6 separate regions of the Homo sapiens genome follow, and regions 1, 2, 3, 5 and 6 are each linked to region 4. Evidence: promoter capture Hi-C in human tissues and cell types (Jung and others, 2019). All regions are on one chromosome and are shown on one strand. The core of a region is centred on a gene start or on the middle of the fragment in contact, and the rest is flanking DNA. Distances in the headings are between cores, read along the strand shown.

Region 1 (4,086 bases), core at 52-2,551, 230 kb after region 4:
AAAATAACTGATACATAAAGTATGTGCTTTATAGGTATCACCTGTTTTACATTTATTTTATTTTATTTATTTATTTTTTTATTTTTTGAGACAGAGTCTCACTCTGTTGCCCAGGCTAGAGTGCAGTGGCGTGATCTTAGTTTACTGCAACCTCCGCCTCCCCGATTCAAGCAATTCTCGTGCCTCAGCCTTCCGAGTAGCTGGGGTATAGGAGCACGCCACCACGCCCAGCTACTTTTTTGTATTTTTAGTAGAGACAGGGTTTCACCATGTTGGCCAGGCTGATCTCGAACTCCCGACCTTAGGTGATCTGCCCACCTCTGCCTCCCAAAGTGTTGGGATTACGGGTGTGAGCCACTGCGCCTGGCCTGTTTTACATTTAATATCTCATTTATTTCTCACGACCATGGTATTTCTTATCATGATAGAGAAAAACAAAACTTAACAGAGAGTAAGCAAGATTTGTTCAAGGTCATGCCAATTCTTTAAGTGATTTGAGTGCACATGATTCTGACTTGAGAATCAATTCTCGGAACCACCATTTCCCGTTCTTCCTCCCATATTTTTTCAAGGGCGAATATGAGAAAGAGGCCATTTCCACTTCGAGTAGATTCTTCTACCTGTGTCTATCTCTATTTTGGGTAAATGCAACTGTTCTCTGGTTCTGGCCCTTGGGTGAACCCCCAGGCATTTGGAGCTCTTCATTAAGGGGTGACTCCTGGCCTTCGACATCTTCATCCAAGCTTCACTCCATTTCCACTGCTCTTCTCAGGCCAAACATCTCTGAAGGGTCTGTGATTGAACTTGGGGGTGGTGGGGGTAGGGACAGCGCAGTACAAGCATACGCTTCTCACTGAAAGGGCAGCTGTCCACTGAGTTCACACAGTAACTTGAGTAGGTGTGTTACTTAATACGCCACAAGAAAATGCCCACCCTGAGATTCTGAAATTGTGGTTTTAATAGGCCTCCTGCTGCTGCTCGGCTGCCTTCCAAAGGCCTGTTGAATTGCTTCCTCTGCAAGCAGGACCTTCTGTCAGAGACTCTGGGGGGACTGTGGTTGTGGATCTGTGGTGAGAGGTGACAGGTGGCCACTCTGCAATTGTGGGATGTTAAAATGAATACTAAAACCTTTTTTCCAAAGGGTGACTAGAGACTAGGTAAAGAAAGAATGGCTATTTGGTACTGTGCCCCCAAGTTTCTGTGCCTCTGGAGAAGGTGTGCTGGCTCCTGCCCAGCTTTCCACACTCAGAGACCTAAATCCTCCCAAGACTCATTCTGGGAAGATCTTGGCATGAGGACACACTGGCTATGCCCAGGCTGGGCCTTCCCAGAGGTTTGCTTAGCTGGGACCCCTCACCCAACTAAGCCTCCCCACCTGTGTCAAGGAGGTGGCTCCTAAAAGAGCATAACTACCATTTTTGCAGAGGATCGTGCCTTTTTTTCCTCCTCAAGAATAGCAAGGAACTACTACAAATGGCCTCAGACATGGTAATTTAAGAGGCAATAGGCCTTTTTATTTTTGACCCAAGGCAGAGCAAACTTCATTTAATGACTAGGAGTTTTTAACAGCTTACCAAATGAATTTTTCCCCACTATGGAACAGTGGAAGTTGAGAAGTTCCTCAGCCCACGGAAAGTTCCTCAGCCCACAGGAAGGGCTTGGTACATGAACTCTATCAAACGTGCTCTGAAATGGGATGAGTTGAATCCAATTCATCTCCTAGAGACAGGGCATGGGCCATTTTTGGAAGCATTGTTTGTTGTAGAGAAGTGAGAAATGTTTTGAGAGTCCAACTAAGATATGTGTCATATGTTTTATATCAATGGCTATGCTTTTTTTTTTTTTTTAATCAGGTTTCTGTTGTTGAAACTTTTCTAGAAGTATCTGCTCCTTAGGCCTGAGCTGTGTTGCTTTATTACTGCTCTGATCTGTCAGGGTATTCCTGGGAGACTGTGCAGCTTTTCCTAAAATCAGGAATTCATTGTATAGACTCTGTTTTTCAAATACTTTCTTAAAGACTGAAAGCCAGGCTCAGCCTCTTATCTTTGGAATTAGCATCTATTAGCACTACTCTGTCATGGTACACAAATGTCACTCTTTTTGGTTGTCCAATAAACATCAGAACTTCTTACCCATATTTGAAGACTTCCACGCTTTAGGATTCTTGGTGGAAGCTCATGTTATCAACTAGTACAGAAGCTAAAAATGCTGCATACATACTTATTGTTTCCCAAATTTCTCTAGAGCTAGGCGCGAGCATGTGGCCCAGGTTCCCCAGTAATATGTACCTTTGCATACTTGGAATCTAGAAGTCATGATGCAAGAAGCTCGCATTGCAAGGAAGACTCTGGTAGTGGTGGCAGCTGCCCATAGAATCTAGGGATCATAAGCAGCTATGATGTCCTCACCAGAAAGGTTCTGCAATTTGATTCTGAGCATTGTTCCTGGCTATAGAGTTCAGAATCTTCTCTAAGGCACCTGGCAATTCCACGAGCTACTCAAAAGCCTTTTAAGAGCCGGATATGGTGGCTCTTGCCTGTAATCCTAGCACTTTGGGAGGCTGAGCCCAAGGGTTTGAGACCAGCCTAAGCAACATAGTGAGATCCAGCTCTAGAATAAATTTAAAAATTAGCCAGGTGTGGGGGTGTGTGCTTGTAGTCCCAGCGACTTGGGAGGCTGAGGAAGGGGGATCACTTGAGCCCAGGAGTTTGAGGCTGCAGCGAGCTATGATTGTACTACTGCACTCCAGCCTGCGTGACAGAGTGAGACTGTTTCTCAAAAAAAAAGTGGGGGCCTTTTAATAATTTTTTTCCTTAGAATGGCTGTCTGCTGTTTACAACTAAATATTTTCACTTAAAACAGTAGAAATAAGTTTTAAATAGGTAGAAGTTCCAATTTTTTGATAACAAAATCATCTTAAATTATAAAACTGTACACTAATGTGGCTCAGAGTCTTTGAACTTGAGAGTGCATTATGAATATAAATACACATATATTTACATATTCATGCAGAAATATGTATAGAAACATAAACATGTACACATGTATATGTATGTGTGTGCATGTCCAAGTCACACAATTCAATATGTCACATTAGAATTGGAAGTCAGTGGCTTCCAATGCCAAACTTTAAATTCTCTTCTGTAGTTGTTAGGTCACCTGCCTTCTCCACAGTCAATTGCTTTCTGTTCACTCCCTCTTTATTGAAAGAATGTACTTTATTTTTATCAAGCTGAACAGTGTTCTCCTCCTTTCCCAACCAATTTCAGCTGAGCTAATCACTGACACAAACTGAACTAAGACCAGTGTGGGCTATTCACCCACACCAGCCATGGAGTAGCATTCATTTTGAAGCAGAAACACTAAACATTAAGTGAAATGTGCAGTTGTTAAAAGGGAAGTGTGTGCCATATACCCTCAGGGACATGTGCTGTACTTAAGGAAATCTGGAGGCTCTGAAAACCTGGTTCACAAAGCGCACACACTTTTCTACAACAAGAAATCTAATAATGCAGAGAAAACTGAAGGAAACTTCCCTGGAATCTCCACGTAACTAAGTGCTTTCCAAAGCTCTTAGCCAAAGCATGAGAATGTTTTCTAAGTTTTCCCCCTTATAGATTATAGCATTTAATCTTCGCAGTGACTCTGGAGGGCGAACTAAGGCAGGCACTACTACCTCCATCTTAAAGATGGAGAAACCAAGGCCAAGGTCAACAGTAAACTAATGGCTCAGCCAGGACTAAACCTATGAATTTCTGGGTCCTAATTCATTGCTTTTCCCCCTTCACCATGCCATTTCTCAATGTTTCAGGGGTGGTTTTCTTGTTTCCTTCTTTTGGATGGAACTGTGTGTGTGTGTGTGTGTGTGTGTGTGTGTGTGTATTTATATTTGTATAAATATATATTTATATTATACATTTTAATATTTTGTTAAAATATATAAATGTACAAAATATATAAAATACTATATGATGAAGGACTTTCAGTCAAAGGTAAAGATCAAGAAATTGCTTATGTGTTCATCTTCAGAAAAGAGTGAGTAACTAGTGGCCTTTAGATGAGCCAACCGCAAGCCTGGACTCATCT
Region 2 (3,705 bases), core at 438-2,937, 230 kb before region 4:
GTTACCTTCCCCTTCATTTGACTGCTATAATAGCTGTTGGAAAGGCCTTTGAAAAATCTGCTGAATTAGACTCTTGCCATTGTGCCTCCCATTCATTAGATAGCCTCCTTATTCTTCTGTGCCATTTCCCACTGGCGGTCTGTGATTAAAAAATATTTTGAACACGGGCAAGCAATTGATGTTCAGTCCCCCAGTGATTCACTTCTTAACACAATAGGTTCTGCGTGAAATTGAGAACAAGTTTTGGTCATTACTTTTATGGGGGAACATGTTTCACAAGTGTCTGCTATTTCTTTAAAATTCTATCTCAGCCTTGTGGGAGATTATTTTTTGTTTATGGGAAAGTTTGGATGATGATATAGAAGTCTCTATTCAAATTTTTTGGAGACTTTCACCCAGATGGAAGAGGAAGAAAAAAAAAAAACCAACAAACCCTCTGAGACTTCATAACTTAGAACCATGCATATCATTTGTAATTTTTTCTAAGATGACTTTCATATCATTTGTAATTTTTTCTAAGACAATTTTCGGCAGTGCTCTTACTTCCTTCTTGATTTTTCTCTCACTTGTATCTTCACACTGACTGCGTTTATAAATACAGTTAATACTTACATTACACTTTTTTATGCATCAGGCATTGCCTGAAGAATTTTACATGAATTAACTTCACTGACACCTTACAACAACCTTATGATATAGTGATATTTTTAATATTATCCTCATCCATAGGCAAGGCAACAGAGGCAGAAATAACTAAAATAGGCCACTTAAGATCACAAGCTAGTAAGTAGGGGACCTGGGTATTTGAACACAAGCAGTCTGGCTGCAGAATAGTGCCAGCCCTTAACCATATGCTTCATTACCATTCACATCCCAGTATATGCAAAGCAAACCACAGACAGCCTAGCTCAGGCCCAAGGACTTCACCAGTAATTACAGAACCTTGCAGAGAAACCAGTGGCCTCTGGGTCTCAGTGCTGAACACTTTGCTCGTGTGCCCTTCAGTAGGCCATTCACTGAGCTGAACTTTGCTGCTTAAAGTAATACATCTTGGCTGGGCGCAGTGGCTCACGCCTGTAATCCCAGCACTTTGGGAGGCCGAGGCGGGCGGATCACAAGGTCAGGAGATCGAGACCATCCTGGCTAACATGGTGTGGTGAAAACCCGTCTCTACTAAAGATACAAAAAAAATTAGCCAGGTGTGGTGGCGGGTGCCTGTAGTCCCAGCTACTTGGGAGGCTGAGGCAGGAGAATGGCATGAACCTGGGAGGCGGAAGTTGCAGTGAGCCAAGATCACGCCACTGCACTCCAGCCTGGGTGACACGGCGGGACTCTGTCTCAAAAAAAAAAAATAAAAATAAAAAAATAAAGTAATACATCTTTAAAGATCAACCCAGTCTTTGTGGAAAAAGCTGTTAATGGAATAAAGTATTAAGAGAACTTTCTTCTCAGTGATGCACCCATTGAAGAAGGCAATTATCCAGAGTTGTATTTAAAATGTATAATTTCTTTTAGGCTTATAAATGCAGATCCTGTAAGTTAAAACAGATTGATGTGTGCATCTTTCTCTTTTTTCTGAGTAGTATTATTTTAAAGTACTATATGTCTTAAATTGTGTTTTTCAATGTTAAAGATTGTCATTAAGTGGAAACATAGAAATTCTATGTGACAGGCACGGTGGCTCATGCATGTAATCCCAACACTTCGGGAGGCCGAGGCAGGTGGATCATGAGGTCAGGAGTTTGAGACCAGCCTGGTCAACATGGTGAAACCCTGTCTCTACTAAAAATACAAAGATTAACTGTGCGTCGTGGTGGGCACCTGTAATCCCAGCTACTCGGGAGGCTGAGGCAGGAGAATTGTTTGCACCTGGGAGGCAGAGGTTGCAGTGAGCCAAGATTGTAGCATTGTACTCCAGTCTGGGCAACAGAGTGAGACTCCGTCTCAAAAAAAAAAAAAAAAAAAAAAAAAAAAAAAAAAAAAAAAAAAAAAAAAAAAAAAAAAAAAAAAAAAAAAAAAAAAAAAAAAAAAAAAAATTCTAGAATGAGTCCACTCAGGCCATTAGAAATGGAACTGGCCAGTTCTATCATTTGCCTTTTCATGTTTGTTTGCCTTTTCATGTTTGTTTGTTTGTTTGTTTTAACGAATTCAATTTCCTAAACTCTTATTTGGTCCAGTAGGATGATACGTTAGACAAAGACTGAGTTTACTGACTTCAACATCTGTTTTAAGAAATGTGCCACTCACCTTTAGTTGGAAGCTGCTAAGTTTTACCCCTAGAATGAGGTACACTTTGAGCAGTTAAGGTGAAGATTTTACCAGGCCCTCTTAAATGTTCATACCTTTTATACCTTCCTGAACAGAGCTCTGGGGATAGAGCAATGTGGTCTTGGCTATTAAAGATAGTGGGCCAGGAACACTTGGTCACAATAAATATAGGATCCTTCTTTCAGCTTTCTCTGTGGTCTTAAAATGAATCTACAAATTTAAAAATGTGTCATTTCCAGGATTATGATAATCCTAGGTAATGAGACACTTTCACAAACCCTACATTGTCAATCTGATGCTTGCTCATTTAAAAGGCCATATCCAAATGAGATTGAATTGTGTTAACTGTACAGTTTCCTGAATTCAATTCATGCCAACACCAAAAAGACTTAAATCAACAATATTTACAAGGTATCTAATTATAAAATCATAAAAGCAAATGAATTTATTGAATGTTATTTTAAGAAATTGTCCACCACTCTGAAATCCTGCAAAATCTTGGAGAGTAGAAATAAATTAGGGCAAAGTCCAAATATCTGTGGGCTTCAGCGAGTCTAAAATCTTCTTTCCAAATAATAACATTTATTGGTATGTTTCTAATTTATAAAAGTTATTCATGCTTATTTTAGAAAACTTGGAGGGAAAAGGAAGAAAACAAAACCATTTTCGATCTCTCTCATGCTTGAAATCTTGTCATCCAAGAAAAAAGCAACTGTGTGTATTCTGTTGAGGGTCCTTTTTCAAAGTGACTACATTATTGAATTTAACACGCGTTTGAATTTAAAATACAAACAAGAATATCTGATAACAGCAGCAATTACAATGACTCTATACTATAATTTCTAATGCTAGGACACTCCAATTTAAGATACACCTTTCCTTATTTACTTTTTAAAAGTTACTTTTTCCAATTGTGAAAGTTACATTTTAACTATGGAAAATTCGAAGAGCATGGGAAAAAAAGTCACACAGTCATCCTTACTTCTTCTCAGGACAAGCAGTAATATTGATCTATTTTTATCTAGCGCTAAAGCTTTTCTTTCTTTCTTCAGCAGGTGCTTTCTCAGAAATAGGTTGCTCAGGTCCTCTTAGAAAGGCAGGCAGATTTGGCAATGTCAGATCCTGGACCAGTATTTGGCAGACTAGCACTGTGTTAGCAAACAGTTTCGAACAACTGTGCTCTCTGGGTAGGACTGTGGGTGGAGTGTCTAGGAAGGGAACTGAAAATGATCTGTGATGAAAGCAAATTCAAATATGTTGGGAGCTGAGTGATCTGTCTATCCACAGCTCATATTTGCCACTGGTACTTCTTTGATTGAGATAAGTGTCATCTTGTCCTCATTCCAGCTTGTGCTTCACCACAATGTAGTTTTCATTTCCCAATCAGCTTGTGAAAATAACCAACCCAGCCTAATTGAATCAGGCACATAGTAGGTC
Region 3 (4,175 bases), core at 1,220-3,719, 150 kb after region 4:
TTTATAAAAGAGAGATGTCAACAGCATCAAACACCAACAGAAACCGACTGGAATGGAGTAAAAGAGGCATTAGTGTCATGTCTACAAATGCCTAAACAATGATAACTTTTTTAGAAAAAAGGAGTAAAAGGAAAGATCTGCTAATATATGGTACAGCATAGACAAACTGACTTATTTATTTGTACATTTTTTCTTATTGAACAGTTTTGTGGTTTTCTTATAGAAACCCAATGAATGGTCAGGAATGACTTTTCCACTTTTCCATTGTAAGATCACTGGTCACTGGCTCTGCTTCCTCAGTTTTTAATTTAATGAACTTGGCACAATTCAAAAACAGTTAATAGTTCATCCTTAGATTTGTGCAGTTTCTCAAATGGCAATGACCTTTTGCTATGGTCAGTTTCTCATTTTCTTTCTGCCCATCCCCCAAAGGAAAAGGTTTTGTAGAGGCATTACACAGAACAGCTGCTTGGAACATGCATAGGCCAGTTTACATTAGGCTGTTTTTTCTTGAGAAAGTCATAGTTTAAACAAATGGTTGTGTCTATTTTAATCATTTTTGCCCTCTTTTGAAGTGTTTTTTCAAACAGAAGTTTTTTTTTAGAATAGAGTTTTGCATTATAAATTAGTCTGCTCTGTCATGTCCCTTTTAAACACAGCTGTTACTACAATGTAAACAGAGTTTTTAAAATGTAGATAAACAGTTACAAGAGGAAGAGTTTCAAGTGTTTTTAACACATGGTCAGTTTTTGCTTACTTGAATTCTGTGGTTTGAAAGTTGAATTCGAAATACACTTTTGATTTCACAGATGTCAAGCTATTCAATACAGCTGTTCATGGATGCCCAATTTTAATTTCACAGCTGGCACAGTTTTGACAATATCACATTTTTGAAGTCATATCAGTAGTAAACCTAGGATGAATATGGAAATTCTACAATGGTACACTACAATACTCCTTTGAGGCATAAATGTTGAATGTAAAAACTATCTAGTAGGCCTAAGCTAAATTATAAAACAGTTTTTCATGGTCATCCACCATATTTGCTATGAAATACACAGCAAATTTCAGTATCTTCATAGAAGGTACAGTTATAATCCCAAGAAGAGAAACAAGAGAATACTAATTCTTTAGTGTAATAATCTTATATTTTAAGAATTTATGCCAAAGTACCCACCTTAAAAAGTTAAAAATTACACATTATTTGGATGTAAAGCTTTTGACTGATCTAAGTTTGTTGTTTTGACAAAATTCAAACAAATGAACTTAAATATAGCATCTGTGTCATTTTCCATCAGCATAAAATGCAAGCACTAGACATAAGTACACAAGAATCACAAGCATTTGGAACTGGCAGAGTATTAAAACTAGAGCATTTCAATGTTTTTTGGGGGAAATGTAACAATATATTTGAAATGTATACTTCCATGATCTATCTAAAAATCTACTATCAAAAATATTATAATGGATGATTAAAGGTATCACTGTTTAAATTATTATCCAGAAATTCCCAAGTCGTTGTTTACCTGTGACTTCTATTACTTGAGTAATAAATTTTGGGACCACATAATTTTAGATAATTATTTAGCAAATGTTCTTTTAGCAAATGCCACATAAAGTAAAAATGAATGTAAAATTAAATTCTATCTAAAAAACAGTTTAGTTAGAAAATACCATCACTGAAATGTCCAAGAAAAACATACACAATTTCTATCCATATTGTTCCCAAACCACCAGGCCTGAGTTATGGATCTTAAGGAGGAAGCCATCTTACCAAACCTAATTACTCTGTGTTTGGCTTGGATAAATGGTTAACTGATTATTTAGTTATATCACACAACCCAACATGACCTCATTTTCAATAAAAACATATGATTTGATCCAGAGCTTTCCACAGTACTTCATAATTAGACACCTTATCCATCAGGCTGCAAGAAAACCCTGGTAAAGAGTAAAACAAGAATTTTCATGTGTTAAGTTATACACCAGAGGGAGTCCCATGAATATAATACAAACATACTGACATTGCCAAGGAAAAGTCAATTAAAAATTATATGCACTCTAAGAGTTACAAAGCTCAAAATGTGTTGTGTAATTCAGGCTGAATAGCCCTTGAGTATAAGCATTCATGAAAATTAGGCTTTATTTATTAATGTTTTTATCTCTAGGAGTTCCTAAGAACTTTCCTAAGTGAATTTTAGAACTGATGTTAAAAGTATAAACCACATTTTCTTCATCAGAATTTCAGATATGTTTGTAGGTATGAACACACATACTATATACTTATAAGTAATGCCATATTTAGAATCTTTAAATTTTTCCTAAAACATGATCATATATCTGATCTTTTAATGTACATAAATACTCTTTCAAGCTAAATTGAGTTAACTCCCTTAAATAAAAAATAATCTGAATTTCTTCCAAAAACTCACCTCTTATATTTATTCAGTGTGATGGCTGTCCCTCATACCTCTCTGAGTCATGTACATAAAGCCTGTACATGAAACCAGGATAATTTGCTTCTGTTTCTGCCAATTTTTTTCCCTTGGATTTCTCTTTCTTGTTGAGCCTTTACTGTACAATTGACATGGAGAATCTTGCCAAATACAAGTAACAGTAACTCTATAGGCTTCCATGGTTACAGTCCCCAAAGAGCTTTGAATAACACTTGAAAATTTAAGACCAAGGAAACCATTAATATCTTTGTAGGCTCTTCATTTACTTATTTATGTTTTTAAAAACAAGTTTCACTGGGTTTTATTTCACTTATTACTTCAACCCATTGATATAATTAGTATTAAACATGTCAAGTGTTATTTTATTAACATAATGCAAAAGGAATCTTCCAACCTATAAGCCATTTTTTTAATCTGTTAAGGGGAAAGAATTAGTGAAACCTTGGTAAAGAGTAAAACAAGAATTTTTCAAGTGCTTGAAAATTTTAGACAAGGTGTTAAATTGCCGCTGAAAATATAGAACCTCCTGGGCTGACAACTACTATTCTTTTGGAGATGCTAACTTACTGGTGGGCTTCCCTGTTTCTTTTAAATATTCTTAATGTGATACTGGAAGGGGCTGTCCCAAGGTCAGACATTGAAATGTAAAGTTGTGAGGTGATGACTGAAGTGGGAATATTATGAAATCTTCACCCTATATTATTTTAGTATAGCACAGCCTTAGGCAAATATAATCACTTCCACCAGATACTAATTCCTATTTTTGTGAAGAAAGTCCAGGATAACTCAAGGAAGGAGAACCTCTAGGGAATGCAATCTGGAAAGTGTTCTTTCCCCTGCCACTTCCCTGCATTCCTGACCAGCTCTCTCTTGCCCCAGTCTCCGCCCTAAATGGCCCCATTGTCCTTTCACTTACGCAGGTTAGCTGCCTCCAGTAGCTTTGCCCAACATCACCTAGGGACCTTCCTATTCCTTCCTCCAATTCTTTTCATCCCCCACTCCCCACAATCAATGTATTTTCTGGAGATTGGTCGGGTTGCCCTATCTTCTTGAAGGAAAACATCGGATTCCTGCCCACTCCTACCCTCCATGGAACTTTGTGGCATGGTACAAATTCCATGGTAGTGATGGCATTCTGGCCAAAGGATGAAATAATTTACACTTTCATGAAATAAAATCCAAATGTCCCTGGCATACAACCTCAGCTCAGAATGTTTATCTGCCCCATCCACCACATCATCTCCACCAGGCAGCTAAATAATTAAAATGATAATTTTCTTTTTTTATTTTATTTTTATTTTATTTTTTGAGATGGAGTCTTACTCTGTTGTCCAGGCTGGAGTGCAGTGGCGCGATCTTGGCTCACTGCAACCTCTGCCTCCCGAGTTCAAGCGTTCAAGCAATTCTCATCCTTCAGCCTCCCTGAGTAGCTGGGATTACAGGCACCCGCCACCACACCCAGCTAATTTTTGTATTTTTAGTAGAGACAGGGCTTCGCCATGTTGGCAGTGGCTTTAAGTGACAGGAAAAAAAAATCTAATTCAATCTTGCTTAAGCAACAAGAGAAATTTATTTGTTCAGGCAATTGAAAAGCTTAGGAGTAGGCTAACTTCAAGTGTGACTTGATTTAGGGACTTGAGTGTTGTTATCGAGATCCTTGATGCCTAGTTTTGCCTTTCCTTCTTTTAACTTCGGACTCCAGGGACACATATTCCCAGA
Region 4 (3,675 bases), core at 366-2,865:
TCAACGCGCCCTTAGCTGGGCGAGTTAACCCCGTCCTGCGGGGAACCAGGCTCCCCGTAGCCCCTGCCCCGGGCTCCCTCCGGCGGCCGCCGCATATTTAAAGAGCCCAAAAAGGACCAGGCAGCCGGGTCTCCATGCGTTCTTTGTCGGGAGGGCGCGAGTCTTGGGCCACCGAGAGCTTGGAGGAGGGCGCCAAGGGGGCGGCTGCGGCGCGCCAGCCCCCGACCCGCGAGCAGCCCCGGGAGGCGGGAGAAAGAGCCTCCGGCCCCCAAGACTCTAGCCCCTTCAGCCCAGATCGGCCGAAGCGCCCGGGTCCCCGGCACCTCCTTCCTCCCGGGCAGTTGCAAAAGCAACTCGGAAAGCGCCTGCGAGCCCGGGTTTGTCGGATCCCGGTCGCTTCCAGTCACTGGGCGACACCGCGCCACTCGGGGCCGTGCACAATAGCGAAAGTCCGAGGACGCGCTTCGCCCGACCCCACCTCCCGCCTTCCCCGGGCCGCCCGCCGCGGCTCCCCACCTCCCCGCCCGGAGGGTTGCTGGCGCCCCGGGGCCGCGCGGCGCACTCGTGGGGTCTGCGCCGCTCCCCCCGGCCGGCCGGCGGGCAGTGTGCGACGGCCGCGGCGACTGGGCTCCCGCACTCCGGCCGCCCCGCGCGTGTCTGGGCCCCGGCAGTGGGGACGGGGTGGGCTGGTGCCCCCACCGCGCCCTCGTACTGACTTGCTGCTGCTTCCTGGGGCGGCCGCGTCCTCTCTTCTGAGGCGCTGGGGCGGCAGGTTGTCCCTGGGCTGAAGTGGACGGCTGCCCCGCGCCCTCACCGCGTGCGCTCATCCTGCCTCCCGCCGCCGCTACCGCCGCTGCAGCCGCTTCGCCTCGACCGCCCCGGAGCTGCCCAGCACCTTTCGGGAGATGAGGTGATAGGGCTGGGGACGCCGGCGGGGCGAGCGCGAGCTGGCGGGCTGCGAGGGCTGCTGTTGCTTAGGCTGCCGCCGCTGCCACCATCAACACCGGACGTCCAGCGGCTGCCAAAAAGAGAAGAGGGGAGGAGGAGGAGGAGAGGAGGAGGCGCTGCCGGTGGCGGCGGCGGCGGTGGGTGGGTGCCGGAGGTGGAGGTGGCGGTGGAGGTGGAGGTAGCAAGAGGAGGAGGGAAGCGAGGGAGAAGGAAGAGAGGCTTTGAGGTCGCAGAGGCTCCTCTCGCGGGTTGGGATCAGGAGTTGCGGGCACCGGGAGCACTTCGGAAGCGGCTTGGAAAGGGAAGAGACTTGGAGTGAATTGTGTCCCTTGAAATGTTAGGCGGGGAAAGAATTCCTCCTCCTCTTCCCCCCACCCTGCGAGAGAGAGAGAGAGAGAGAGAGAGAGAGAGAGAGAGAGAGAGAGAGAGAGAGAGAAGAGATTGAGATTGAAAGTGCCTTGGGCAGTCGGAAAGCAAAGGAGGATGGGGAGACTCCGCCGGGATAGGGTCGGGCACGGAGCACAGGCAGAGGACAGAGTAGTGGGTGGCACCGCGCCTCCTAGGGTGGCGGGAGCAGGCAGCGGCGGCACCGGAGAGTCGGAGGGGGACGGGCTGCTAGCTCCTGAGTCTTGCACCAAGCGCGCGCTGCCCGGGCTGGAAGTTTTCTGAGTTCCTGCCCCAAGATTCAAGTGGGATGAGTGTGTGTGAGTGTGTGTGAGTGTGAGTGTGTGTGGTGTGTGTGCGTGCACGCGCTTGCGCTTGGGGAGGGGGTGGTGGTGGGGGGAGTGCCCACCTCTAATCGTGGGCGGATAAAGGGGAGGGGGTTGCGCAGGAAGAAAAGTATGAGGAGGAGGGAGGCCAGGCGGACCGCCGAGCCAAGGCGCCTGGCTGCTAGCCAGAGGCAGCGTTCGAAATACAACTGCCTCGGCGGCGGCGGCGCCCGGGTGCCACCCGGAGCCCCGCTCACGTGCTCCCGCCCGGCGGCGGGGTTAAAGGGACAGGCCGGGGATCCCGGGCTGGCTCGCCGTGGGCCTAGCTCCACCCGCCTCTCGAGGTCACCCCTGGGCAGTTGTCCTGGGAAGGCGCGGGAACGTGACTGTCCCGGAGCCACGTTTCGGGGCTTGGCCTTTACCTGCGCCTCTACCGTGCCGAGCCAACACTTTGCAGGAAGCGTCTAGGCTGCACCTCAGGCAGCGCACCGGTTCACTGTGAGTGGGAAGGGACTGCAGTGGAGTGGGAGAGGTCCCCTGACAGCCGTACTCCGCCTCGGAATGCCCTCACCACAGAGCCTGCGGGCGGGCGAGCGCGCACATACACGGAGACATGCATGCAGATACACACGAACACGCGTGTAAGCACATGCACGCAGATACACGTGGACACGGGGGCATTCATGCGCTGGTAAACACCCGCATTTACACACACACACATACACACAGGCACGCAGATAGACATGCACATTCGCAGACACATGCAAACAATGTGCACACACAGAGCGCCCCAGCTTCTTCATTGAACTTTTTTCTCCAGGAAAGACTAGAGGCAACCGAAGTTCCCTCCCCATCCCCCTCCCCGGGAATCCGATGTTCCCAGGGTAAAGGGCACCTTGTAGATTCCTAACACCACAATTGCACTCACTGCCCAACTCTCCCTTCAGTTTACCTCGATTTAACCTTCTGCCTGAGAACTCTCTTTCTGCCAAGTCCTAATTTTATGGCCTGGGCTGTTCTGAGTTATGTGAACACCATAATGGCCACAGTCCGTTTTTAAAAGGTGGAGTACATTTTTAAATGTACCTCTTTTCATCCTTGAATAACACAAAACTCTGAAAAAATTAGGTTCAGATTTTCACACATCACACCCAAAATTATTTTGGACTAATTCCAAAATAAAAACTTTCACCTGGGGAAGAATTTATTTTTTTCAAAGATACAGACCACCGTGGAATAAAAACGCCTACTTTGCAGCCCTAAGCAGGAGTTAGGCACCGCCAGGTTCCGCTGTGCATGTGGAGGAGGCGCGTGTAAATGTCTGCTTTGGCGCGGCAGCGCTGATTGGTCCGCGTTGCCATTTTAAATCCATTTCCAGCTGCCCTTTGCAGAGCTGGGACACTTTGCTGCACGTTGAGTGCTCTGCAGGAACCCAGGGTTTCTGCTGGGTCTGGGAACGCTTAGCTGTAATGGAGAGAGAGAGCCTCCATCCCTCCGGATGGAGCCCAGCAGCTGACTGGGGAGGGAGGGGTCTAACAGGAACCAAAGGTTTTCTGTCAGGGCTTGGCTCAAAGATGGTATCTTCATCAAAGGGATTGAAGTTTCACCTAACGATTACAGTGACATTTCCTAACTGCCAATCGTGCACATTTAAAAACTATCACATATTTGCACTGTGGTGTGCACATTTCACATACACGTACAAAATAGGTTTTTGGGTTTGTGTTGTTTGCTCACTTTTTGCCAGGAGTAGAGAGAAATTCTGAAGGTGAATGCAGGGGAGTCACTGAGGAGTTCAGCCAGCCAGTTTTGTGCTGTATACCTCATTATATCCTAGGATTTTTTTTTTTTTGGTAACGTGTACAGAGGTCAGCAAAGAGCAGATTCCAAAATTTTGTTTTTGCGTTAATCTTTGAATATAAGAGAAGCACAGAAAAATTGGGGGTGGGGGAATATACAGCCACTTGTTTTCAGGCTGCTATCATTTTGCTATTAGACTATTTGACCCCTTTTGAAT
Region 5 (3,776 bases), core at 811-3,310, 250 kb after region 4:
TTTTTATCTAATAGTTTCTCCAGCGTTGGACCATTTTCTCACATACATGTTTTAATCAGCACTCTGCTGAATACTCAAAGGGAATCCTCTGAGGATCTCCAGAGTTACTCACTCCTGTATCCCAACTACTCTGTCCTACACACTGTAGCTACCTTTGCAGTTGTTTGAGTCAGAGAGCTGAATCTGATCCCTGTTATTCCATCTTGGCTACAAGTAGAAGTCAATCATTTATTTTTAAATGAAATTTAAAGAAAATTGGCAAGATATGTACAAAAACTCCCATATCTCCTTACCCAAAGTTCCCAATTATTAACATTTTACCCCTTTCCTCCATCTCTCTCTCTCTCTCTCAAAATTTACATTATTCTGTTATAAACCATTTAAGCAGTAATTGCAGACCTGATGATTAATCACTCCCAATTCCTCCAGTGTATATTTCTCCAAAACAAATACATTCTCCTACATAACCACCTTACAACCCTCCAAATTAAGAAATCAACATTGATATAACACTGCTATCTAATTAACAGAACACTCTCAAGTTTTTCCAACTGTCCCAATAATATCTCTTTATTTTCTTGTCCAGGAGTCAACCCAGGATCATGCATTGCATTTAATTGTCATAGATTTTTAAATCTTCTTCATTCTGGAACAGTTCTTCAATCTTTCTATCTCTTCATTCTGTAGATATTCCTCTACCTAAGTTTATCTGATGATTCCTCATGTCCAGAATCAGGCCATTACTACTTTGCAGGAATGCTCTGATGCTGTACTTTACTTGGGCTATCACATCAAGAGACACATGAGGCCAATCTCTCCCTCCAATAGTGAAGTTGCTGTTCACTGGATCAAATTGACATCTACTAAGTTTCTCCATCATAAACTCAATGTTTTCCCTCTTCATAAGTATTTGGCAGGGAGATACTTTGATACTATGCCAATATTCAGCTCCCAATCAAACCTCCACCTTCCACATTCAACATTATTGATGGCTCACATTGAATTTCATGGAACCTGGACTTAACCCATATGCACTTAGTTTTCCAAAGGCATCGGCAACTATGATCAGCTGTTCCAGCTGTAACAGTCCTAATCTCCACTGCGGATCCATATATTTTTTTTAATTCCATAGTTTAGAGAAGCAGTTATATCCATCTAACCATCCAACCATATATAATTCATTCACTCATTCATTCATTAAACAAAAATTGTTGATATATCTACCATGTGCCAGGCACTGGAAATATAAAAAAAATAAGATGTCCAGGCGTGGTGGCTCACACCTGCAATCCCAGTACTTTGGGAGGCCAAGGCAGGCGGATTACCTGAGGTCAGGAGTTCAAGACCAGCCTGGCCAACATGGTGAAACCCCGTCTCTACTAAAAATACAAAAATTAGCCAGGCATGGTGGCAGATGCCTATAATTCCAGCTACTCAGGAGGAAGCTGAGGCAGGAGAATCGCTTGAACTCAGGGGGTGGAGGTTGCAGTGAGCCGAGATGGCACTACTTCACTCTAGCCTGGGGGAAAGAGCAAGACAAAAAATAAAATAAAATAATAAAAAAAAATAAGATACACTAATTGTACCTAATACAGTCCTAGCTTTAGTAGGGAAAAATGGCATGTCAACTAGTAATTACAATTTAATATGATTACAACAATATAATGCATTATTAAATATATGGAGTATCAAAAAAGCTTTATTAGCATATAAAAGGTTTCCTAAAGAGGTAATATTGGAGCTAGGTTCTTTAAGGTGAGTTATTTGTCTTTGGGTGGAAGTGAGGGGAGAGTAAGGATGTTTGAGATGGGAGAAAGAGGGAGGGCGGCAAGAAGGTAAGAGAAGAGAGACTGGTGATGGGGAGGGAGAAACAGAATGGAAAATTGTAGGTGGGCCAGGTCGGTGTGGGACAAATTGTTTTGATCATGCTTAGTAGTCCAGTTTTTATTCACTAGCGGTTCCCACTAAAAGTACAGATTCCTGGGACTCATCCTGAAGTTATTGAGTTAGAATCCCTGAGGAGGATCTGGGAATCTGTATTTTAACAAACATCTCAAGTTTATGAATCACTGCCATAAGCCAAAGAATATTTCAAATGCTTTAAAACAAAAGTGAAATAATCAGGTTTGTGTTTTTAAAAGCTCACAAAGGGACTTGTGGAGGATGACTTCGAAAGGGAGGCAGGTAGACACAACCATCTGTGTCCTCAGTCAGAGCACTCTACCAGTTATTGGCAACACACAGACTTCTAAATCCTATCTTTTCTGGAGCTTAAGTGATCTTAGCTGAATTTAAGGCATTTGTGGAGAGGATTTGATCCAAGCTACCAGCATTGTGTCTTGTGTTTCTGAATTGTTCAGGCTGTAAAGAAGATCCAGACCACTAAGATGCTCCAAAGTAGATTGTTAGAAGACACTAGCCGACAAGATCTGCCAAGAGTCTCATTGTTGAACATGTTCAACAGTTGAACTCTATGTTCAATAAGAGAAATTGTGGTGAATATGGTTGATTGGCACTCAATACCTATTCTACCCTCCTTTTAGTGCAGTGGCTTTTAAACTTTTTAAATAACTCAACCCACAGTAAGAAAAACATCTGATATTGCAATCCAGTATACACATATGTGTACTACAAAATAGTACTTGTGCTTACTGAGTTCATGATTTCTGATATTTTCTATTCTGTTCTATTTTCTTTCTTTTAATGTTCTCATGATCTGCTAATGATGGGTTCTGATCCCAAATTTGAAAGCCATTGCCGTGATGTGCAATGAAGACTACTTTTTCTCACACATTTCAGCTAAAGTCCCAGATGTATTTAGGCTTTGCAAACCAAATATCCTCATATTGCTTTTGCCATTTCTGCTGGCAGGTGTGTTATAAAGGTGTTTGGTCTTCTTGGCAATGTCAGCAGAGATTTGGTTGCTAGCATAGGTACCTTGCATGGGTATTTAGGAGAAAGGCAATGGACATCCATTTTTGCTAGTGCAGTTTGTGTCAGGAACAGAATGGTTCTGGAGTATGTAGCATTAGTGGCTTCATAATCCTGATACCTTTTAATCAGGAGGTTCTCTGATTGCAGTGGCTTTGTGATCAAGGCAGTGGCAATGTGGTGCTGGAGCCTGAGGAGCCCTGATCCTAGAGTGGCAGCAGCTCCCTTGGTTTCCAGTACTGTGTGTAACTGGGCAGGGCAAAGGAAGGTAACCAAAAGCTCACTCTATAGGCTGTGTTGTCTCTCCTTCCAAAAATTCTTTATGCCACTTAAAAACCTATAGTAAATCGCTACCTGCCTAAATTAGCTAGAGAGTATTCTGTTCTCTGCAACAGAACCCTAGACACAGAATAACCAGTCCTGCTGAATTACCAGTGAAGTACCAGCCGAGGGGGCTCAGGACTTGCTTAAGCCTTTATTCAGCAGAACTTATCTGGGTCTAGCCACAAAAATGAAGGAAGGACAACTGTGTCTAACAGCATGGGTCAATCTTAGAACCATAAGGTAGAGCAAAAATAGCAAAACACACAGTATATGGTTCTGTTTATATAAGGTTTTTTCTAAAACATGCAAATTAAACTATATTGCATAGTGATAGATCTAAAAAGAAAAGAAATATTTAACATTGATATGGTTTGGCTGTGTTCCCTACCCACAATCTCATCTTGAAGTTTAATCCCCGTAATCCCCACATGTCAAGGGAGAGACCAGGTGGAGGTAATTGAATCATGGGGGTGGTTTCCCCCATGCTGTTCTTGTGATAGTGAGAGAGTTCTCATGATATA
Region 6 (3,865 bases), core at 1,024-3,523, 200 kb after region 4:
CACTACAGAAAAACTGTAGCCTGTCACTGTCCCCACCTTAGTCCTCCTAATTCTTTTAGCCTGATTTTGTATAAAGCGTATATCAGATACTAACATACAATATGTTTTGCTTACTATTTTTTCTTTTTAAAGAAAAATATGTTGTCAGAGCATAAGCTCCATACAGGCAGCATTTTTATTTTCTGAACATTGATGTGTTTCCCTCACTTATAAATACTGTAGTGCCTGGCACATAGTAGCACTCAATAAATAGTCCTTAATGGATGAATGAACTAATGTTACAAAAGGAGTAGTTACTTAGTGGACACAGCATTTATGAATCCCTCAAGTATTTACTGAGTATCTAAATAACCTAAACTGTACTAGATTATACAAGAAAACCAAAGGCATTCAGAAAATTAAATTTTAAATAAAGCTTTGTCTTAATCTAGGCATCTTGGAGAATTCAATAGTTTAATTTCCAATTTTAGAGAAAAGTAACAATTTCTTTCTATTTTAATTTTCACAAGTAGTAGGTTGGAATACTAGGCTCAATTCTCCGTGCTCACCCTATAAAAGCATTTGCATCCACACGCCTTGTCATATAACTGCAGTGCTTCTGTACAGCGGACAAGGCATTCATCTCTGCCGTTGGGCTTTGCCATGTGACTTTTTCTGGCCAATGGGATGTGAGCAGATGTGTTCTGAACAGAGGCTTCATGGCACTTGCATGGTCCGGTTTGCGCTCTTGGGCATTTGCCATCTGCCATGAAACAAGCAAGTCCCAGTCAGCTACCAGAGTGAGAAATTAGGTAGAGCAAACCTGAACTCACCTAGAGCCTGCCAATGCACAGATCCTTAGCCAAAAAGTGAAACTTTATTGTTGAACCCACTAAGATTTCATAGTTGTTTGCTACCCAGAATTAGTATAGCCCAAATCTGACTAATGTAGCCACAAATAAACATAACTAACTTATTAATAGTAACTCTCCTACCTGGAATTTAATATAGAAAGAAAATTTCACCTTTCATTAAAATTAAAGTTAAAAATAAAAGGCATTTCATGGTTTTTCTAAAGCTTCCTTGAAAGTGAGCACATTAAAATATGAAAAGTGAGGTATATTTCCTAAGACAAACATGATTTAAGGCGCTGTTCTAATGAAGGTGAAATGTCTGGCAGTGAAAGAGCACAGGAGTAGGAGCAGAAAGTGTGTCCTAGCTAGATTTTATGCCCTGTCTTCCCCTGGGTGAGCCACCAAAAATCAAGAAATCCCTGGACATTCCTACATCTAGAACATGAGGACATCGCAGCAGATGGTTGCTAAGGTAGCTTTCTGCTCTAACATCTGATTTGCCATTTTCATGTAGAATTAGAATAAAAATTATCTCATAGCAATAGAAGAAAAGTACTCACTGATGGATGGAAACAAGAATTTTAAAAATATCCCATGGAATTGAATTATTCTATTGTACATAGAATTTAAAAGCAAATGAAAAGAAGGACAGCCTCAAATCAAATCACGTCAAAAGGATAAAACTCTTATAAGGCAGCTTATTCTACAGAATGGCTTGTGGCCATTTTTCTTTGATAAGAAAATAAGTGGAGAAACAGTGTCATCTTTATTTTTTATTTATTTATTTTTACTTACATTTATGTTTATTTAGGACTAAAGAGGGTTATGGAGATTATGGGGGAGCTGAAAACCTCATGGTGTTGGCTTCTGTTTTTTTTCTAATTTCAGTTTATATTTTAGATACAGGGGGTACACATGCAGGTTTGTTACATGTGAATATTGCACCATGCTGAGGTTTGGAGTACAGCCCCCATCACCAAGGTAGTGAACATAGTGCCTGATAGGTAGTTTTTCAACCCATGCCCCCCTCCCAGTAGTCCCTAGTGTCTATCGCTCCCATTTTATGTCCATATGTTCTCAATGTTTAGCTCCTAATGTAAGTGAGAACATGTGGTATTTGGCTTTCTATTCCTTCGTGAATTCACTTAGTACTATGGTCTCCAACTGCATCCACGTTGCTGAAAAGGACATGATTTCATTCTTTTTGTATGGCTTTGTAGCATTTCATGGTGTATATGTGCCACATTTTCTTAATCCAATCTACCGGTGATGGGCACCTGGGTTGATTCCAATGTCTTTGTTATTGTGGATAGTGCAGTGATAAACATACAAGGGTATGTGTCTTCTTGGTAGAATGATTTATTTTCCTTTGGTTACATACCCAGTATCAAAGTATCATTTTTATTAATAAGAATACAATTTAAAAAATAACAAGTCACTGGAAAGTAAATTTGTTGAAAGTTATTCTCATCCAACTTTTACGTAGCAAACGCATGGATCAAGTGTCTGGGTTGCTGTCTGTATTATCCATATTCACTATTCTTAGAACTGCTTCTGTAAAACTGATGTACTAGCCTCTCCAAGCTTTGCTCCAGGTTACAGCCTGCTTCTTTAGGCAGGAACGGAGTTGTAGAAATGGTTGCTCTCTGAAAGACAAACTTTATGGGAGGAATTCCTTTTTAGTGTCTTTTTTTAACTCCTCTTCAAGAAAAATGATCTGTCTTGGTAACATGTCTTGTCTTTTCCTGATCACTTTTTGCAATGTGCCTTCCCCTAGCAATCTGCTACAGCAATCAGCTTTTTCTGCGAAGGAGCCCTGTCATCTCTCAAGGCAGGGAGAATCATCAATGGCATCTCACTTCAACAAATTAGCCACAGTGTTTACACTGCAAGTCCTGGAGGCTGAGCTTTCTTGCATTTCAAGAAATTCCCAGGATTCTAATGTTTTTTCCAAGTGAGAATGTTTTGATCCAATGCATTTTACTTCTCTGGCTTAACATACATTATTCTATGGGCACCTACTGAATGCTTTAAGCCAAACTCTTAGAAATATTAATGCACATACACACATACACTGTTGATGCAAATAAAAAAGGCAGTGTGCTGCAGGAGAGAGAAACTGATTTGAAAGTTAGGAAACTTAGAGATTTACATTCTAGTTCTAGTTCAGGTAAGCCAATCATTAACTGTGTGACTTTAGGCATATCACTTCCCCTAAGATTCTCTTTCCTCCATTGTAAAATGAAAAACAAAGGGCTTGGGTTAGATTAATCCTAATAACTACTCCAGCGCTAGCATTCTATAACTTTAGGCTTCTAATTGGTAGCTAGATAGGGATAAATTGTTAAGGCAAGGCGGTGGAAGCCATTGTGCATAAGTCCTGTGATCAGCTTTTACCCCAAGCAGAAGCTGTAACTTGTCAGGGGCTTATTAAAAGAAGGGCAGCCCTGAAAGACTCACAAAACCCTTGCCTCAATTCTCACACAATATTATTAATATGGCTACAAAATAGTGGTATCACAAGGCGGCTTCAACTGCTGCCACTACTATATTTTATTAGTTGTATTGGTCCTCATGCAGAGCCCAAGGGTCTGAGCATTTGAAGAGCTCATATTATAGGGCTGAGGCTAAGGGAAGAATAATAATAATTAAAAAAAAAAACATAGTCAGGGGTGACCTAAGTAACTTCCTGAAGTTCCTTTCAGGCCCATGAGTTAATGTATAGGAAGAACAAGCTTATTAATCAAAAAACACTGATCTGCTCAATGTCTAATTATACCTGTCACTGTTGTTGCCCACACTTCAGGCCTGATATGTTTCTTCACTGAAGTCACGTGGCTGTATTTTCAGACCAGTTTCTAGTTGCTCTGTGTATTTTCTGTGTGACACATCTCTTCCATGTGACAGTTGAAAATTGTCCAGAGAAACACCAAAACCCCGCTATAGAACAACCCTGCAACCCAGAGACCATACAACCCCTTTCTCTTCTCCTCCCCCGCCCAGAGCCTCCTGTTAAATTTCCAGCCATCTCT

The links. Contacts are between HindIII fragments. The study calls those that stand out against the background at their distance.
Region 1: a contact is called between a fragment that was not itself captured here and the fragment with the promoter of HMGA2 in region 4, in 1 of the 25 tissues and cell types used here (IMR-90 fibroblasts).
Region 2: a contact is called between a fragment that was not itself captured here and the fragment with the promoter of HMGA2 in region 4, in 1 of the 25 tissues and cell types used here (aorta).
Region 3: a contact is called between a fragment that was not itself captured here and the fragment with the promoter of HMGA2 in region 4, in 1 of the 25 tissues and cell types used here (ovary).
Region 5: a fragment that was not itself captured here is called in contact with the fragment with the promoter of HMGA2 in region 4 in 2 of the 25 tissues and cell types used here (IMR-90 fibroblasts and mesendoderm cells).
Region 6: a contact is called between a fragment that was not itself captured here and the fragment with the promoter of HMGA2 in region 4, in 3 of the 25 tissues and cell types used here (IMR-90 fibroblasts, bladder and mesenchymal stem cells).

Annotation. Positions count from the first base shown.
Region 1 is chr12:65,587,396-65,591,481 of GRCh38, reverse strand. The region is part of intron 1 of MSRB3-AS1 (MSRB3 antisense RNA 1); the gene reads left to right. Among named protein-coding and RNA genes, the nearest start is that of LINC02454, 13 kb to the left of the region's middle. The HindIII fragment of the contact is 4,845 bases long and covers 1-3,723 here.
Region 2 is chr12:66,055,924-66,059,628 of GRCh38, reverse strand. No RefSeq gene overlaps it. Among named protein-coding and RNA genes, the nearest start is that of LINC02425, 27 kb to the right of the region's middle. The HindIII fragment of the contact is 4,301 bases long and covers 1-3,705 here.
Region 3 is chr12:65,671,789-65,675,963 of GRCh38, reverse strand. No RefSeq gene overlaps it. Among named protein-coding and RNA genes, the nearest start is that of MSRB3-AS1, 32 kb to the right of the region's middle. The HindIII fragment of the contact is 4,103 bases long and covers 418-4,175 here.
Region 4 is chr12:65,822,423-65,826,097 of GRCh38, reverse strand. HMGA2 (high mobility group AT-hook 2) reads right to left here and starts at 1,615. Exons shown (of 5, transcript NM_003483.6): 1 at 717-1,615. The coding sequence starts at 827. It also overlaps the pseudogene RPSAP52. RefSeq lists an enhancer at 1-495. The HindIII fragment of the contact is 9,780 bases long and covers 1-3,675 here.
Region 5 is chr12:65,570,561-65,574,336 of GRCh38, reverse strand. All of the region lies in intron 1 of MSRB3-AS1 (MSRB3 antisense RNA 1), which reads left to right. Among named protein-coding and RNA genes, the nearest start is that of LINC02454, 30 kb to the left of the region's middle. The HindIII fragment of the contact is 8,770 bases long and covers 1-3,776 here.
Region 6 is chr12:65,619,049-65,622,913 of GRCh38, reverse strand. All of the region lies in intron 1 of MSRB3-AS1 (MSRB3 antisense RNA 1), which reads left to right. LOC105369806 (a long non-coding RNA gene) reads right to left here and starts at 618. Exons shown (of 4, transcript XR_945028.3): 1 at 549-618. The HindIII fragment of the contact is 3,074 bases long and covers 737-3,810 here.